Regions from separate parts of the Homo sapiens genome. Here regions 1, 3 and 4 are each linked to region 2. The links are contacts of gene promoters, found by promoter capture Hi-C in human tissues and cell types (Jung and others, 2019). All regions are on one chromosome and are shown on one strand. The core of a region is centred on a gene start or on the middle of the fragment in contact, and the rest is flanking DNA. Distances in the headings are between cores, read along the strand shown.

Region 1 (4,409 bases), core at 1,541-4,040, 450 kb after region 2:
TTAAGAAATATGATGCAATCATTTTATCTGATCAGATATTAAATTTGGCTGGAAAAGTTTAAGCTGAAAGCTTCCGTCTCCTGGCATTGTGGCATCTGTGACCAGCATTTGCCACAGAAGAGGCATATCTATGTTGCCCATGTGGACATCACTCTGAGGGAGGACTTTGTTTTCACCTTAGCTTGATAACTTTAACTGAGAGCTGACCTTGCCTCTCCAAAGGGCGTCACCCACTGTTGTTGCCGGCAGGGTCAGAGTGGCACAGTAGGTGCTGCTGGAGCCCAGCCCCCACCAGACCCTCTGTAAGAACCCAGAATAACATCCACTCAAATTTTTGACACTGGAGTGGGGAAGAATTTTAGCAGGTGTCTGCACACTTCTTCTTCTTCTTTTTTTTTTTTAAAGGCTGGATGGTAAACACATTCAGCTCTGCAGGCCATGTGTCTAAAACCATATGTTGATCACAACACACCATGAGACAGACCCCTAGTGCTGATGGTGAAAGAGAAATAAGAGGAAAAGAGCCTGGATCTCCAACAGCCTGGAGCCCCCCACTCTACACCACTCTAGTTTATGGGAAAGAGAGACACTCTTCTAAATTTCTTAGATCATGGGTATTTTGAGTTTAAGGTCCCTCTTTGTCCAATCTATTTCTCACTAATATAGGCACCTAAATTTTTACTTACTGTACAGTGACTGCCTATATTAGTGAGAAATGTAAACTGATCCTATATTCTATCTTACTTTGTTTATTCCTTCACTTTGAATGGAGAGAAAAGGCAGAGATATTATAGCATTTCCCAGCAGAAAGTAGAGAATCAGATGAGAAATGACATTAACATAGTAAGAGCAAGGTTGGTGCCCTGAGTAAATCACAAAGGGCTAGGGTTTAAGTGGCCCCAACCCCAGCTCTGCTACAAGAGCCTATTGATTATTTGTACCCCATGGGCCACATAAGAGTCAGGGGTCTGGGATGCAAGAAACTAAAAAACAAAAACAAAAGCATAAGAACAAAAAAACTAAAACTTTGGCTGACTTAAGCAGGTAAGTATTTTATTAAGAAGACATGAAGTAGCTCTCGGGACAACCACGAAGGGCATAGGACAAGCTTGGAAAATGCTCAGGAACATGAGGTCCTGGAAGCAACTAGGACTGTAAGCAAACCACACAACAAAACCAGTCAGGGAGGACACCATTGCTGTTGCCAGAACTGAGCAAGAATACTGCATTGCAGCATCAAGCCTGGAGCTCCTGAAATCACGACTGCCACTGCCCACCATCAGAAGGGAATCTCCCTACCTTTTTACATCTCAAGCTCCCAATTCAGAATTTGGAATAGGTACTTCAGATTAGTGCAGCCTTGGTCATGTGCCCATACTTAGCTGCAAGGGAGGCTGAGAAGGTGAAAGTTTGAGGTTTTCAGCATCTAGAGTGAAAATCAAGCTTTGCTTCCTACTGAGACTCATGAGCTGAGGAATTTCCCATTTGTAAGAGGGCTTCAGATGCCCAATAGCTACAGAGAGAGAGAGAGAGAGAGAGAGAGAGAGAAACTTTACCATAGGACTCCATTTCCTCTTCTGCAAAATGAAGTCTCCAAAGTTGTTCTAACTTTTCAGACGTTCTGATTCTACAGCAGTAACATTTAGATGTTTATGCATATTATGAATATGTTTCTTGTCATTTAAAAAAATATGGGAGGAAGCAGCTCATAGAGCTTATGCTTTCTGAGCTCCTTGGATCTGGCCAAGAATCTTGAGAGCAAATATGTTTCATTTTGCATGCTAACACCTATTGATTGATTGTGGTTTCGAAAACTGTTATGCAAATATAATTTAGAGAATGACTCCATCTTCACCAGGAAAGATAGTTTGGATCAATTAGCAGGGACTTCCATGCAGGGGTAAGAGTGAGGGAGGGTACCACCTGTGTGACCCATCAACAAATTGTAGCCAAACTCAGAAATATTAGGGGCCAGAGCCTCTCCTCGCATTGTTCTTTCTCACCAGAGAGAGAGCTGCAAGTGGGAACCCGTCCCTGAGGAGAGCTTCAGATCGAGGTTGAAAGTAGCCAGGACTCTGCCCAACAGGGACAGAGGGCCCAGTACTCAGCCAGACCAATTGCCCCACAGTTTTACAGCCAGCACAGTCATACAGAGCCTCCAGGTCATCAGTCATAGTGTAGACACTTGTCCAGACAAGTGACCTTAAGTGACCTTAGCAGAGACATTTTAGAAGACCTGGGTATTATGATCAAGGCAGGCTTTGCTTGCATTGGGGAGTTCTTTACCCAGAACACAAGTCCTGAGGTGATACTGCTCCGTGGAGGATTTCAGAGAAAATGTGAATGTGCTGGGGTGGAGGGAGGCTGGAGAAGCAGATCCAAAAAAAAGGATAAAATTCTTGGCTTAGGAAACTTTGGGGACTCTCCACACAATTTTTTTGCTCTTAGTGGATTCTGCATTCCCTTCCAACTCATCTGCCTAATTCACTCTTGGGTTTGGTCCCTCTGGGATGAACTAACTTGGTTCATGAGAATGGCAGTAACACCAATGTTGCAGAGGACAGTTAGCAACCTGTGATTTGGCACACGGATCAGTCATTAGTATTCATCTAAATATCCACCAGGAATGTGAGTGTGTCCTGTGGCAGTTGGTTGGAAATGTGAGATTCTGGTAGCAAAAGCAGTGGAAGTTTAATCATTGGCAATCCTCACTAGATAAGGCTCTCCGCTAATCAGGTGTGAGTCTTAAACAGATAGAATCCATCTGTTAAGGGAGATTAGAAATATTTCCCATTAAATAGGCTCTGGATGTGACCAAATCATGAGAGAGTTAGGGAAGCAAATTATGAGATTCTGGAAGCAGTTAAGAAGGAGTGGCTTTTGGGGAAGCCAGATTCCCAATTGGTTTTTTTGTTTCAAAAATTAGTCTTTTAAAAAGACTTTTTATTATATTTCAGGCCCGCCACAAAGGATAGAAAACATGATAAACAATTGTGTGTCAACTATCCAAGAAAAAAACAGGTTCCAGGGCATTTGCAGCTAAAGCATCATATATAAGATGTAAAGAAGTCCTTTTCGTTTCTAATCTCTTCATGTAAAGAACGCGTGAATGCAAATCTCAGTGCTACATATGATTCTTTCTCATTGTATAGTCCCTTCTCTTTACTGGTTTTGAATGACTTTTGTTTGTTTCTAAAAGTCAGATCAGCTCTAGGATGACGGTTTTACTCTATAAAGGGATGTTGAAGGGAAAACATTACATGCTCTGAAGGCCATTTTAGTGATGAGATACCAAAGAAAGTTTGCTAAAAAGCAATATCATTGGAATCAGGGTATAAATCTCCAAGGTGGTAACTTTGAGGGGATGACAGCCACTTACTTGACTGTGTAAAATCTTGAGTGGCCAGAAACAACCATCACGTAATTTTATAGTCAGCATTATTGCCAAAGTCTTCATGGAAGGAGTTTCTATAAATTTTCACGGTAATATTTGTAACTCTTCCTGCAGAGACATTCCTTTTTATGTCAACTCTAAACCTATTCTCCTGCAATCCAGCTGATTACATTCTGCTTGACCCTGAATCATAACAATAGCTGTTATTTGAACCTCAAAATGGCTCTCTGCCTACGAGGTGGGTACTATTATAGCCCTTGTTTACAGATTAGTAGCATCAGGTTTAGTGAGATTAAGAACTTTTCCCAAAGTCAAACAATTAGGAATGAAGAAAGCTGAAGATTCACACCGCCAACTGAGCCCCCTTAACCACTGTTCTTCAGATTCCCATGGCAAAAAATGGCTTCTCAGACACAAGAGCTCATTTTTCATGGAGGTGAAATGGATACACATTTCTCCAACACACAAATTGAACCCATTTTGGTTGGGTTGCTATGGCCTCAGATTCCACCAGGTCTTCCAAATCTGATAAAAGTGAGTGGTCTAGGGCAGAGCTGTACATAGAATATGTGCCACATATTCAGAGTGAGCTGTCATCTCTAACCGTGGCTTCCCTAAAGAAGCTTAACTCCATCTCCTTGGAAATAGGTGGATTTGGTTCCTTGGCATCCGTTGCTAGGTGACTCACTGCCTGCATCAGTCAGCCAGAATTATAGGTGCAAGGCAGAATACAGGCATACCTCATTTGATTGCACTTTGCTTTATTTATTTTTTTTAATAATTGAAGGATTAGGGCAACCCTGTGTCAAGCAAGTCTACTGATGCCATTTTTCCAACAGCATGGACTCACTTCATGTCTCTGTGTCACATTTTAGTGATTCTCACAAAATTACAAACTTTTTCATTATTACTATATTTGTTATGATGATCTGTGACCAGTGATCTTTAGTGTTCCTATGGTAATTGCTTTGGGGCATTATGAGTCATACCCATATAAAACAGAAAATTTAACCCA
Region 2 (4,631 bases), core at 857-3,356:
ACCCTGCCCCCCACTTCCCACTTCCTGGTATTCATGCCCTTATGTTAACCCTTCTCACATTAAATAGGGCTGACCTGCAAAAGTAACAACACATTGTGGAAACGACTGTGTGACTTCCAATGCTAGGTCTATGAATTTCATGTGGCTCTCTGCTGCACTCAAGCAGCCCTATGGAGAGGCCTACTTGTCAAGGAACCAAAACCTCTTGCTATCAGCTATGTAAATGAACCATCTTTAAGGGAGACTCTCCAGCCACAGTCAAATACAGTCAGATCTTCAGATGATTTTAGCCCTGGACAGCATGTTCACTGCAACCTCTTAGGAGATCTTAGTCAGAACCACCCAGCTGAGTCACTCAAATACCTGACATACAGAAACTGAAATAAAGCTTGATGCTAAATTTGGGGGTAATTTAATACAGAGTAGTAGATAACTAATACAGTACTGGAGAAAAGTTATGCCTGGTAAGGACTTAGGAAGGTAGGCACTATTTTTGGTAAGTGGATTTGGATAAGCCTCTCTTACAAAGGCATTTGGGCAGAGATCCAAAAAATAAGGAAGCAAGCCAGCAAAAGGATGTTCCAAGCAGAAGAGTAATGGATTTCTGACTTTCTGACTTAGTACCAACTAAAGTGCTTGTTAGAAGAACATCAAATGTGTCATTGCGACTCAAGTAGGGTGAGCAGGGTAGAGAAGGGGGTGTGGCAGGACCTCAGAGGGAGGGGTAGAGCCTCGGAGAATAGAAAGTAAGGTGTTTGAATTTGATTGAGTCAAGGGAAGGCACTGGAAGGTTTTTTAAAGCGCCATCTTCTTTTGGTTTTCTCTTGGCAGCCTGGATTCTGAGCATGCAACATTCGACTCTAACAAGGCTGACTCTGGTTCAACCAGGCTGTGTGGATGAAATCTACGACCTCCCCAAGCATTTGAAGTTCATGTTTTCTTTTTCTTTTGAGATGGAATCTTGCTCTGTTGCCCAGGCTGGAGTGCAGTGGCGCGATCTCGGCTCACCACAACCTCCGCCTCCCGGGTTCAAGCGATTCTCCTGCCTCAACCTCCCAAGTAGCTGGGATTACAGGTCTGCGCCACTGCGCCGGGACTAATTTTTGTATTTTTTAGCAGAGACTGGGTTTCGCCATGTTGGCCAGGCTGGTCTTGAACCCCTGACCTCAGATGATCCGCCCGCCTCGGCCTCGCAAAGTGCTGGGATTACGGGCGTGAGCCACCGCGCCTGGCCTGAAGTTCTTTTCTACAGAACTTTGCTGTCCTATATACATGAGGGTACACAGCCAACTGGGCACCTGGCACGGGTCTAGTCCAAATTGAGATGGGCTGTTAACTCTAAAACACACACTGGATTTCCAAGACTTAGAACCAACGACAGAGCGTAAAAGATCTAATTAATTCTTTTAGACTGATTACATGCTGAAATGACAGGATGGGCTAAATTAAACACATTAAAAGCAGTTTCACCGATTTCTCTTTACTCTTTAAAAATGTGGCTGCTATTAGAATTACCTACGTGGCTTGGACTGTGTGTCTACAGGGAGCTCCTCTCGCGCACTCTGTGCACTCAAATTCCGCCGGTGTCCTCCGCCGGAAGGGCCGCCTCAGAAAGGCCGAGCCCCCGGCCTGGCTTCTCCGGTTTCCCGGGAAAGCGTTGCAACCACGGGCGAGGGCTCCGAGGTCGGCCCCGAGGGGTAAGGGCAGCCCTTGCCTTCGCGACATCCATTCACCCGGCTCCGCAGGTGCAGCGCGCGGTCCTCAGAGAAACCCCGACCCTCGCGTCGCTGACCCGACCATTCATTAATCGGGGGCTTCCCAGGGCCCAGGAGCAGCCTCGGGCGCCCCACTCCCCCATTCTCGCGTAGCCGTCCCCTTGACCGCGTCACACCGAGCGGCACAACCACCAGGGAAGGTAACTGGGAGGGCGCGACCTCCCTCAATCAACAGCCACCTCGGGCTGACTGAGCGGACCCAGGTCCCTTTCAGCCACAGCGTTCCCTCGGCTTCCTGGGCCTCACGGCGGCGGAGGCGTGGCCACAGCCTGAGAGGCGGGTTTCCTGTCCAGTTGTGAATAACTTCCGACGTGTGCCGGAAGTTTCCTCAGTGACAATCAGGAAGTCGGCGTGTCGAGTGGCTCTTCCTGGCTGCTGAGGCGGGTTAAGGTCTGAGGGTCTTGTGGGGCCACGGCGCTGATCACCAGGTGTTTGGCTTGGTCGGTTCTTATTTCTCGCCTGGCAATGGCGACGTACACCTGCATAACTTGCCGGGTGGCGTTCCGCGACGCGGACATGCAGCGGGCCCACTATAAGACGGACTGGCACCGCTACAACCTGCGGCGGAAGGTGGCCAGCATGGCCCCAGTGACCGCCGAGGGCTTCCAGGAGCGAGTGCGGGCGCAGCGGGCCGTCGCGGAGGAGGAGAGCAAGGGCTCGGCCACCTACTGCACCGTTTGCAGTAAGAAGTTTGCCTCTTTCAACGCCTACGAGAACCACCTCAAGTCCCGGCGTCACGTTGAGCTGGAGAAGAAGGCCGTGCAGGCAGTGAATCGGAAAGTGGAGATGATGAATGAAAAGAACTTGGAGAAAGGACTGGGCGTGGACAGTGTGGACAAGGATGCCATGAACGCGGCCATCCAGCAGGCCATCAAGGCCCAGCCGTCCATGTCTCCCAAGAAGGCGCCCCCAGCGCCTGCAAAGGAGGCCAGGAATGTCGTGGCCGTGGGTACTGGTGGCCGTGGGACCCACGACCGAGACCCGAGTGAGAAACCACCCCGGCTCCAGTGGTTTGAACAGCAGGCGAAGAAGTTGGCAAAGCAGCAGGAGGAGGACAGCGAGGAGGAGGAAGAGGACCTGGATGGAGACGGTGATGGCCCTGTCTGGGCGGGGAGGGTAAAGAGGAACTTGGCCCACCCTTAAGTTTCCAGATTTATACTCGAGATGGGTGTGTGTGTGTGTTTGAGAGCTTTTAAGTAAAAATGATGAGGGAAGGTGGTTTAGACGCTTTCTGAAGTGCCTTATCTGGCCAGCAGGTTTGGCTGTTTAGTTCACTCAATTCATTCTCCAAGGCCTAAAACCTTGTCTGGAAAAAGAAGTGCTTAATGCATATTTGGAGAATGAATTGATGCCTTCTGTGTTTTGGATGAAGAGGCTTTTAACATATGCACAGGAGGACATGCTATCGTCATACCAGCTGCCGTGTAATTTGCGATTCTAGTGGGTTTCCAGTTATGATGGTTTTGCACTTAATTTAGTTGAGTAAAACAGAATGAGGGGATCAAAACCAACTCAGCCAGAAATTTGGAGCTGGAGCCAGCACCCTCACCTCTTTGCCTTTATGAGCTATTTATTCCTTACTTCCCTCATCCCACATCCTATTAACAGTGCTGGTGTAGGTGTTCATGTCTTAGTCTGTCCACTCTGCTATAAGGAAGTACTAGAGACTGGGTGATTTATGAACAACATAAATGTATTTTCCCATAGTTCTGGAAATTGGGAAGTCCAAAATCAAGGTGCTGGCAGAGTCAGTGTCTGGTGAGGGCCTGTTCTATAGATGAAGTTTTCTCATGGTGTCATCATGTGGTGGAAGAAGCAGAAGGCAAAAAAGGGGCTAGCCAGTTCCCTCGCACTAATCCATTTATTCAGGATTAGTGCTTGCCTAACCTAATCACCCACTAAAGGCCCCACCTCTTAATGCCATTTCATTGATGATTAAGTTTCAACATTTGAATTTTGGGAGGGAAACATGCATTCAAACCATAGCCGTTCATAGAGCACCCTACCAGCACATACACACACCCCATAGTACTTTTGTGAAATAGTAGATAGAGGCATTGTTTTAGAAGTTTATAAAAATATCCAGGCAGGTAGGAGACTTCCTAACTATATTTTCAGCACTGGGCTAGGTGCTGTAAGGCATAGGAAAGAAACAAAGAAAAGATTCCTGTTTCCTGGAAAAGAAAGACTAAGGAGTTTCATGGCCATTCAGATGAGTCTGTGGTAAACAAATAGCTAAAATTGAGATCTTGAAAGAGGAGTTGTCCTTGGGAGTTGGGGTGTGGCTGTTTCTCCAAATATAGGACTGTATCACCTCGTGAATTTTTGTGATATCTTTGCTTGCTACTACTTTTCTTAAACTTTATATTTCAAAATTCTGGCTTGCAGATTGGGAAGATATTGATTCTGATGAAGAATTGGAATGTGAGGATACTGAAGCAATGGACGATGTGGTGGAGCAGGATGCAGAGGAGGAAGAGGCTGAGGAAGGCCCACCCCTTGGTGCCATCCCTATCACGGACTGCTTATTTTGTTCCCATCATTCCAGCTCGCTGATGAAGAATGTGGCTCACATGACCAAAGACCACAGTTTCTTTATTCCTGATATAGAATATCTTTCAGATATTAAGGGACTGATTAAATACTTGGGTAAGTACAATAGTTTTCCTTTTAATGAGGAAATAATCACATTATTGGGGGACTGGTCTCAAGGGAACATTAGTTTTGCATTTTTCATCAATCTTTGATATAATTGCTTGGTTATTTTGTGAATGATTTTTGAGTTTTGGTGACAAATAGTGAGATTTAATCTGGTTGCAAAAAGCTTTTTTCATATTTTTTCCTTAAATTATTTTT
Region 3 (4,799 bases), core at 627-3,126, 420 kb after region 2:
TCTCTCTCACACACACACACACACACATACACGCAGTCTACATTTCTCATTCCAGTTCTCCAAAAACTAATTTGAAGTAAAAGTCATGTATTACTATCACAAAATATTCTCAAAGTATGCACTTGAGCAAAGGTATAGATAATTTTTCCTCATTATTCCTCCTGTGGGCCCTACTCTGCCAGAGTTACTGTCTTAGATGCCTCATTGAAACACCAAGAAAAACACAAGAATTGAAGCCATTTGCCCGATTGAAACCAGAATGTGACAACATTTGCCATTCTGGCTGCTTAATATTTCAGCATCCTTCAATCTTTAGTGAATATGTACATTCTATCTTTAGAACACGTCTAGAGAAAACAATTCCAAAAATGATGCGGAGGGAATCCATGTGGAATCAATTGTTTAAAATGCCCAGCAAATAATCTTCTGTTTGGAACACTCCAATGCCCTAAATAGAGTTAAGATTAAAATAACTCTCCTAGCTTACCTCTGGCCAGAAAGTTGGGGAAAAGGGGTGTTCCAACATTATGGAGTAAGAATTTCCATAGAAGATTCTGCTATGTTATGCCCAACATCTAGCTGATTTCTTCTGTCCTTACACCTCCCTAGTCTCCCCTACCTTGCATGAGCCTGGCAGTTCATTTCCTTTCTAGATAGAGTAAAGGAATAGTGAGTTCACCCTAAGACAGACAAGTTAGTACCAGGAGGTACAAATAAAATGAATAATCAAATGGACTATCCGGACCTCACACCAGCCTCAGCTAACAGTATCCAGAGCATTGCTCAGTGATGTGTATTTTATCACTTGGGGCAGAAGGAAAAATGTCTTTCCATACAGCCCAGGCCAAAAAAGTCATTTTTAAATAGGGAGCTAAACTCACTCACTTTTCCCAGCGTGGATCCTTAAGGCCCCTTTGGATTGGGTTTCATGGAATGTGGTTTTATCAGAAATATCCTTGGTTCTTACTTCGTGCATATTTCAGGGCATAAGTAATGAACCAGACATTACACGAAGTGATTTTCCAAAACATCAGGAAAAATACATTTCCTCCATCAAATGGCTTCCCCTACCCATAATCCCAAGCTTCACATCTCACAGTGTCTCCTTTTATTCATCCTAATTAGCAATAAGTGAATCCAGTCCCATTCTGTAGTCAGCCAATTTACAATTGGATTTTATGTGCATTTTAGATTCAGCAACCTGCTGTTATCCAGCCCCAGATACCTCCTCATCTATGATCAAGGGAAGTGTCTGTTTTTGATTTATTTCTACCCAGCAAGAAAAGTTGATTCTATGCCTATATCCGACACACTATTACCTTGCACTTTTTGTATATTTCTCATTTTTGAGAACTTTACAGTGTTAACATGTGATGGCTAATTCATTGTTTATTTTACTGCTGAGTTGACTGCACAGGGTGGGCATCAGGATCCATTCTGTAAAGAAAAACTATCCAAGGTCAAGGTCACAAACCATGGTGCAAAAGCAGGAGGGATGTCAAACAACCAGACAGAGACAAGCAAGTTGTCCATTCTCCAAGTTATCGCCTCAGGATGACCTTTCTGAGCTAGGAGTCCTCTCTCCTAGAAGTTTACCTTATTGGCAAACTACTGGAGAACGTTCTCTGTATCCTCCTCTCTGCGCCCCCACCCCCCACCTTAATGCTTAAGGGCCACAGGGACTTTTATGAAAAGGAAGGAATGAGCTTCACACATGTGATCTAATTCAGGATCAAAGACCCTCTCGAAACTAATGATTTGCTATCATTAGTTAGAAAATGACTCATGGGTCATTTTCCAACAACATAAGTCAGAACCTGCTTCCCTTGGGGAGCTCTTATTTATTCCATACTGGGCTCAGACTGAGCCCTCTAGGATTTCTTAACTATTCCTTAGGATGAGAAGGGCCTGCCTAAAAGTCTACAACACCCCAGATTGGTAGACCCAAGATGTGTGAACAAAAAGCAACCCCAGACTCTCAAAAGGCCAATGCCCTGGGCTCCTTTTGTGCCCTAATGCCCAATTTCATATCCACAATGATAGGCTTGAAATTTCCCAGTGTGTCTTTTTATTCAGTTTAAATAGCAATGAGTAAATTTCTTCTAGAAGAAGCTTGAGAGGGAGAGTCTCCCTGTGGCTTGGCCAGAAGTTGAGCTGAAGGAGCCAGTCCTTGTTATACAGCCATTTGGGATCAGCAGCCCAGGCAGGCTGCCCACATCCTAGGTGCATCTGGTTCATCCTCAGATAGCCAATGTGGCCCTTACAGTGTTGGGAATAGTGCCTTTTACTCTGTCCCAGGTACCACATGAAAGTCATGTCCTGCAGCACCCTCAGGCAAGGACTAGCCAAAGCCCCGCTATCTTCACTGAAGGTTTCTGCCTACACTGACCACTCAACCCTCCACACTGAACATAATGTCCATGACTGTCCCCCAAAACTTGCTCAATCAGAGCCCATGAAAAGGTGTCCTGAAACCAACCTTGTGTGTTTTTATACTGGCACCTCTAGGGGAGCTCACTTAGAGCCCTACTTCTCCTCTGTACCCCTCTCTCTGAAGACCTTGCATTACTATCAATTTCACAGCCTAGGCTAGTCATTTCCAAATCATCTGTACTTGAAAACATCTTTGGTAGGAGAAGGGAGGAGCTAGATACAGAACTATGCATTTATCCATTCCAACCGGGCATGGTGGTTCAAGCCTGTCATCCCAGCACTTTGGGAGGCCTAGGTGGGAGGATCATTTGAGGTCAGGAGTTCAAGACCAGCCAGACCAACATGGTGAAGCCCCGTCTCTACTAAAAATACCAAAAAATTAGCCTAGCATGGTGGTGCATGCCTGTAGTCCCAGCTACTTGGGAGGCTGAGGCAGGAGAATCACTTGAACTCAGGAGGTGAAGATTGCAGTGAGCCAAAATCATGCCACTGCACTCCAGCCTAGGTGAAAGAGCAAGACTCTGTCAAAAAAAAAAAAGAACTATGTATTTATGCATTCCAAAAAAATATTTATTGAGCACCTATTATAGGCAAGACATGATGGATACATGAATTACAGCAATGAAGAAGTTACAGTCCCTGACAGCAAGGACACACCCAACAGGCAGCCTATGTCCAAGACAGTATGAGAAGTCTGGGGAACAGTAGGCCCCAGGGCTGTGGGGGCAGAGGGGAGGGGGTCTAATCATATGTTACCAGGATAAGGGAGGCCATCATAAGACGTCCAGACACCCATGTGTTGCTTCAAGTGTGTTTATTAATTGAATAGCTAAATCCACAGGCATATTATTTTTCATCTGTATGAGATGAATTTAAAAGTGTACTAGATGTGTGGAAACCTTCTGTTCTGTGTGACTCATTCTTCAGTGAAAACACTCCTATCATGAGGAGGAACAGCAGGGATTGTGGAGCCGGCCTGCCTGGTGCACACCTCAATTCCCCCTTACCAGCTGTGTGATGTTGGGGGAGTCACTTTAACTTCCCCGTGCCTTGGTATCTCATCTGTAAAACAGCATGATATTATTTACCTCATAGGGGTGGGATAAACAGTAATAGAATCAGTACACAGAAAGGACTTAAGTGGGGCTTGGCACTTGATAGGTCTTCTGAAAACATTAGCTACAGTTATAATCATGTAGGGGGAGACATGAAATATTCTGTGGATTCAAATGGGCTGTGGTCAGAAAAATGCAAATCAAAACCACAATGAAATATCATTTCACCTCAGTTAGAATGACTATCTTGAAAAGACAAAAAATAACATATGTTGCCCAGAGAAAAGGGAACTCTTACACCCTGTTGGTGGGAATGTAAATTAGCACAGCCATTACAAAAAACAGTAAGAGGATTTCTCAAAAAAACTAAAAATAGAACTACCATTCGATCCAGCAATCCCACTACTGGGTATTTATCCAAAGGGAAAGATATCAGTACATCAAAAGGATACGTGCCCTCTGATGTTTATTATAGCACTTCACAATAGCCAATATATGGAATCAACCATAGTGTCTATCAACGAATGAATGGATAAAGAAAATGTTATATATATATATATGTATACACAATGGAATGCTATTCAGTCATAAAAAAGAATGAAATCTTGTCATTTGCAGCAACATGGATAGAACTGGAGGTTATTATATTAGGTGAAATAAGCCAGGTGCAGAAAGACAAACATCCAGACTTGACCACCTTGTCAACCACAGGGCTACCATATAAGTCATGTGGCATTTACTTGAGAAGCAAATCTCTGGTACAATCTGTTGTGGCCAAGATATCTGTGTCTAATGACACAGAGAGCAAGACAACACATGTACTTCCCCTCTAGCCATAGGTGTAGTAAGGGTATAGAGTCTCTGGAACATAAGTTTATGGCTGATGGTCAGCCTGATGCCTAGCTACAGTCATGGTGGATGTTTATACTGGTGATCATTCTGTTTGATCAGTGCTGGGGCTCTACCAGTTGTCTTGGCATTCACCTCTGCATGGTGATTATTGGAAGATAGGCACTCAGAAGAAGGGGCATTATACAGTAAAACATGGGTGGAAATCAGGCTCTAGTTTTTGATCTTGGCTTCATCACCAGCAACTCTCTCTCTCTCTCTCTCACACACACACACACATACACACACACACACACACACACACGTTCTCATTTATATGTGGGCGCTAAAGGTGTTGGTCTCATGAAGGTAGAGAGTGGAATGACAGTTACCAGAATGGGAAAGGGGGAAAGGAGGAAGAGAAGTTGGTTAAAGGGTGCAAATGTACAGTTAATTAGAAGGAATATGTTCTAGTGTTCAATC
Region 4 (4,966 bases), core at 447-2,946, 330 kb before region 2:
AGACCATTTTGGATGTTGCGTCTTCACCTTTGCTAACAGGCTTAATGCCACTTTGTCTTCTACCTTCATTCAAAGCCCATGTCATCCACACTGTCAGAACGAGCAGTATCTTAAAAGGATGCTCTATGGCTAGTGAGGTTCCCCAACCAGGAGGAGGAATATGGTTTAAAAAACATGATCATTCTTTTGAAGAAAGCTGTGTAAGAAGTTTTAATAATGGTTTTATAAGTAAATCAGTGCCTTAAGAAAGAAAGGCTCATCTTAGAATTTTACAGCAACCATACAAACGTGTCATGAATGGGGCATGCAAAATGATATGGGCATATCATTTTTTAAAAGGTGTGTTAATGATGGGTGAATATCCTAATAATAAATTAATTAAATTTAATAATAAGCTTAATGCCCATGACTGTGGCTTTCACCCTCTGCTTGCAACTGAGGAAGAGGATTGGTGTGTGCTCAGTTGAGCCCGCCGTGTTGATGGTTGGCAGTGTTGACTGTTGCTTGTCAGCTTCCTCTGACCTACCTGGCTGCATAAAGAGTGACAGTCCTGTCACAGTAGGGAAAAAAATAAGAATGTATTTCACAGTAAAAATGAACATTTTTGATACTTAGCAGAAAAAAGAAAATAATGTAAACAACTATCAAAAAGGTAGAAAACAAACATGGCATTTTAAACAAAGTAGTGGAAGGGGCCAGGCACTCACAGCCTCAAGTATTGTCTGCCTGCTCCCTCACCTCTGCAGATGTTAGATAGAAGGAGGCACTGGAGTGTCTGTGGTCCAGGCACTGATGGAGGATGGAGGCATCCCAAGGAGTAGGACACTTTTTTTTTTCCAACTTCCATCTTTTTTTTTCTGGCCAAATCTTCCCCATAGTGCTCCGACAGGACAAAATGGGTTTTCTAGAGAGTTGATGTTTCCAAGGACCTGAACATTTACTCATAAAAGCACCAGATCTTTTTTTTCTAATTAAGGTGAAATTCATTTAACATAAAATTAACCATTTTGAAGTGTACAACTCAGTGGCATTTAGTACATTCACAATGCTGTACAACCAACAACTCTGTTTCAGTATGCTTTCTGCTGCCAAAACAGGATACCACACACTGGGTAATTTATAAGGAGCAAAAGTTTACTTGGCTTATGGTTCTGGAGACTGGCCAGTCCAAGAGCATGGCGCTGGCATCTGGTGGGACCCTCTTGCTGTGTCATGGCCTGAGGCATCACATGATGAGAAAGCTTGAGTGTGAGACAGAGAGAATGCATGTCGAACTTACTCTTTTATTAAGAGCCCACTCTGCAATAACTAACTCACTCCTGCAATAATGGCATTAATCCATTATGAGAGCAGAGCCCCATGACATAATCAGCTCTTACCTTTGTAATCACCTTCCTAATACTGTTACAATGGCAATTAAATTTCAACACAAGTTTAGGAGGGGACAAACATTCAAACCATACAACCTGTATCTTAGTTCTACAATATTTTTATCACCTTAGGTGGAAACCCTGTACCAGTGAAGCAGTCATTCCCCTCTCCTGCCACTGTCTGCTTTTAGCAACCACCCATCTTGCTGTTTCTATGGACTTAACCTATTCTGGATATGTGAACTTTTGTGTCTGGCTTAATATGTCTCCAAGGCTCATTCACATTGTAGCATGGATCAGCACTTTATTCCTTTTTGTGGCTAAGTAATATTACATGGTGTGGGTATGCCACATCCATTCATCTGATGATGGGCCCTTGGCATTGTTTCCACCTTTGGCTGTTGTGAATGGTGCTTCTGTGAACATGTGTGTACAAGTGTTTGAGTATTTTCTTTCGCTTCTTTTTGATATGTATCTAGGAGTGGAATCGCTGGGTCATATGGTAATATCTTTTATGTTTTTAACCTTTTTTTAAATCTTTTGCTTCATATTATTTCCAAAACACATTCCAGGTTGAGTAACCCTTATCCAGAATGCTTGGGACCTGAAGTGTTTTGGACTTCTGATATTTTCTCTGATTTAGAAGTATCTGCATTATACTTACCAGTTGGGCATCCCTCATCAGAAAATCTGAAATCTGAAATGCCCCCATGAACATTTCTTTTCAGCATCATGTTGGTGCTCAAAAAGCTTCAGATTTTACAGCATTTCAGATTTTGGTTTTCGGATTAGTGATACTCAACCTGTATGGACTTATTTGCATTTGAAAAGTTATACTGAACAAAACAATACTTTGCTTGATGTTCCTGGCTGATACTATGAATATAAAATATTACAAATTGCTATAATATGGTATAGATGCTCTCAGGATGTTTGGACTTTCTGTCTAGTTTTCTTGTTTTTTGTTACCCTCCGCCAACCCCCCTGGGTGTATGCATCCCTGGTGTCTTTTTGTGTGTTCAAATTTCCTCTTCTAACAAAGACACCAGTCAGATTGGATTAGGGCCCACCCTAATGGCCTCATTTTAAGTTAGTCACTTATTTAAAGCCCCTATCTCCAAGCATAGTAACATTCTTAAGTACTTGGGATTAGGGCTTCAGCATGTGAATTTGGGGAGAAGGCATGAATCAGCCCTTAACAGCCCATAAAGCCCTAGACACACTGTACGAGCTTTGTAAAAGTTGGTTGGTGGTTAGTGGTTGATGGTGGTTGCAGGACTCTCTGCTCCCACCCCTGTCTGACTGACTTCCCTAGTTGTGTCTGAGCCTGGAAGCCAGGTAATCAGAGTTAGTATTTCCTGTAAAAGTAGAAGTGAATAGTTATGTCCACATGGAGAGGCCTAAGGCATTAAGCTTTGGTAACTCTGTAGCCTCTATTTATTTATTTATTTTCCTTCTTTCTTTCTTTCTTTTCTTTTCTTTTCTTTCTTTCTTTCTTTCTTTCTTTCTGTCTTTCTTTTCTTTCTTTTTCCTTTCTTTCCTTTCTTTTTCTTTTGTGTTGTGTTCTGTTCTTTTCTTTTTCTTCCCTTTCTTTCCTTTCTTCCTCTCTTTCCCTTTCTTTCCTTTCTTCCTCTCTTTCCCTTTCTTTCCTTCTTTCTTTTCTTCTTTCTTTCTTTCCTTCTTTCTTTCTCTCTCTCTCTCTCTCGCACGCTCGCTCTTTCTCTTTCTCGCTCTCTCTCTGTTCTTTCTTTTTTTTTTTTTTTTTGACAGAGTCTCGCTCTGTCGCCCAGGTTGGAGTGCAGTGGCGCAATCTTGGCTCACTGCAACCTCCACCTCCCAGGTTCAAGAGATTCTCCTGCCTCAGCCTCCCGAGTAGCTGGGATTACAGGTGTGTGCCACCGGGCCTGGCTAATTTTTTGTATTTTTAGTAGAGACGGGGTTTCACTCTGTTAGCCAGGGTGGTCTTGGTCTCCTGATCTTGAGATCCTCGCACCTCGGCCCCCCAAAATGCTGGGATTACAGTCGTGAGCCACTGCGCTCGGTCTGATACCTAGCATTTTCGAAATGGTCACGTTATCTTTTAAAAGCTGTAGCTAACTCTGCATAGCATAAAATTTGCCATTTTGACTATTTTGAAGTGTACAATTCAGTCATATTAGGTACATTCACAGACCTAGCACTTTGGGAGGCCAAGGAGGGAGGATCACTCAAAACCAGGAGTTCGAGACTAGCCTGGGTAACAAAGCAAGACCATGTCTCTACAAAAAAAATTAAAAATAAAAATAAATAATAATAAGGACATTCACAATGTTCTGCATCCACAAGTACCAACCACTTCCATAACTTTTTTTGAGATGGAATCTCACTCTGTCGCCCAGGCTGGAGTGCAGTAGCACTATCTCGGGTCACTGCAACCTCTGGCTCCTGGGTTCAAGTGATTCTCCTTTCCCAGCCTCCTGTGTAGGGATTACAGGCAGGCATCACCATGCCTGGCTAATTTTTGTATTTTTAGTAGAGATGGGGTTTCACCATGTTGGCCAGGCTGGCCTTGAACTCCTGACCTCAGGTGATCTGCCCGCCTCAGCCTCTGGAAGTGCTGGGATTACAGGCATGAGCCACCAGGCCCGGCCCACTTCCAGAACTTCCCCATCACCCTAAATAGAAACTCTGCACCCATTAAATTGTAAATGTCCTTCTCCCCCAACCCCTGGCTACCTCTCTTCTCCTTTCTGTCCCGTCACTTTTTAACCATGCTGTTTCACAGTAGCCATTTAATGAGACAGGAGACTGGACCTGGCCAGTCCTTTGCCCATGGGAAGGGATTAAGATTGGTGAGGTCAGCGGGGAGCAGGGATCTGGGCCTGGGGAGCAGGGACTGGGCCTGGGCCGCCTCACCATCTTCCTTCTCTTGTTTCCCTTTCACTGCCATCCCTCTTTGAAATGGCTTCATTCATTTGTCCAGAATATCAAGATTTGGTACCCAGAAAGGCAGGGACAGTGTGCACCCGGGAGACAGAAGACGTCTTTCCCCCTGGCGCACACTCGGTGGGTTTTGTTGGAGCTCATCCAGTGGCCTGGGTTAGAAGTGACGCATCCCTGTCTCACTCTGTGCTTGCAGACCTACATCGGCTCCATCCTGGCCTCCGTGAACCCCTACCAGCCCATCGCCGGGCTGTACGAGCCTGCCACCATGGAGCAGTACAGCCGGCGCCACCTGGGCGAGCTGCCCCCGCACATCTTCGCCATCGCCAACGAGTGCTACCGCTGCCTGTGGAAGCGCCACGACAACCAGTGCATCCTCATCAGGTAACGGGGCTCACAGCCAGTCGGACTTTCCCATGGCCCAGGAGTCCCTCCGCGCACCCCCAACCCCAGCCTCCTTAGGGCATTAACCAGAGGAAGCTTTTACAACCGCCTGAGTTTCTCCGACAGAGTTTTCTGTTTTGAATGGCATGGTAACTTCAGCTTTCAGAAGGAGCTTACTTAGCAAAGCAGATGGACCATGTTGCTTGGCTCTTGTCCTCAGAATAATTATTCCATTCTGTTCCTTTTTTTTTTTTTTTTTTTTAAAGCAACATTTATTTGCCTTAATTATT

What was found. Contacts are between HindIII fragments. The study calls those that stand out against the background at their distance.
Region 1: a contact is called between a fragment that was not itself captured here and the fragment with the promoter of ZNF622 in region 2, in 1 of the 25 tissues and cell types used here (mesendoderm cells).
Region 3: a contact is called between a fragment that was not itself captured here and the fragment with the promoter of ZNF622 in region 2, in 2 of the 25 tissues and cell types used here (H1 embryonic stem cells and dorsolateral prefrontal cortex).
Region 4: a contact is called between a fragment that was not itself captured here and the fragment with the promoter of ZNF622 in region 2, in 1 of the 25 tissues and cell types used here (dorsolateral prefrontal cortex).

Annotation. Positions count from the first base shown.
Region 1 is chr5:16,013,520-16,017,928 of GRCh38, reverse strand. No RefSeq gene overlaps it. Among named protein-coding and RNA genes, the nearest start is that of MIR887, 81 kb to the right of the region's middle. The HindIII fragment of the contact is 3,027 bases long and covers 1,277-4,303 here.
Region 2 is chr5:16,463,275-16,467,905 of GRCh38, reverse strand. ZNF622 (zinc finger protein 622) reads left to right here and starts at 2,106. Exons shown (of 6, transcript NM_033414.3): 1 at 2,106-2,865; 2 at 4,164-4,424. The coding sequence starts at 2,241. RefSeq lists enhancers at 267-356, 387-446, 2,729-2,798 and a silencer at 699-921. The HindIII fragment of the contact is 5,798 bases long and covers 1-4,631 here.
Region 3 is chr5:16,039,899-16,044,697 of GRCh38, reverse strand. No RefSeq gene overlaps it. Among named protein-coding and RNA genes, the nearest start is that of MARCHF11-AS1, 87 kb to the left of the region's middle. The HindIII fragment of the contact is 5,341 bases long and covers 1-4,546 here.
Region 4 is chr5:16,794,356-16,799,321 of GRCh38, reverse strand. MYO10 (myosin X) reads left to right here. Exons shown (of 41, transcript NM_012334.3): 4 at 4,489-4,676. Among named protein-coding and RNA genes, the nearest start is that of MYO10, 140 kb to the left of the region's middle. RefSeq lists enhancers at 4,041-4,568, 4,569-4,966. The HindIII fragment of the contact is 4,165 bases long and covers 1-3,778 here.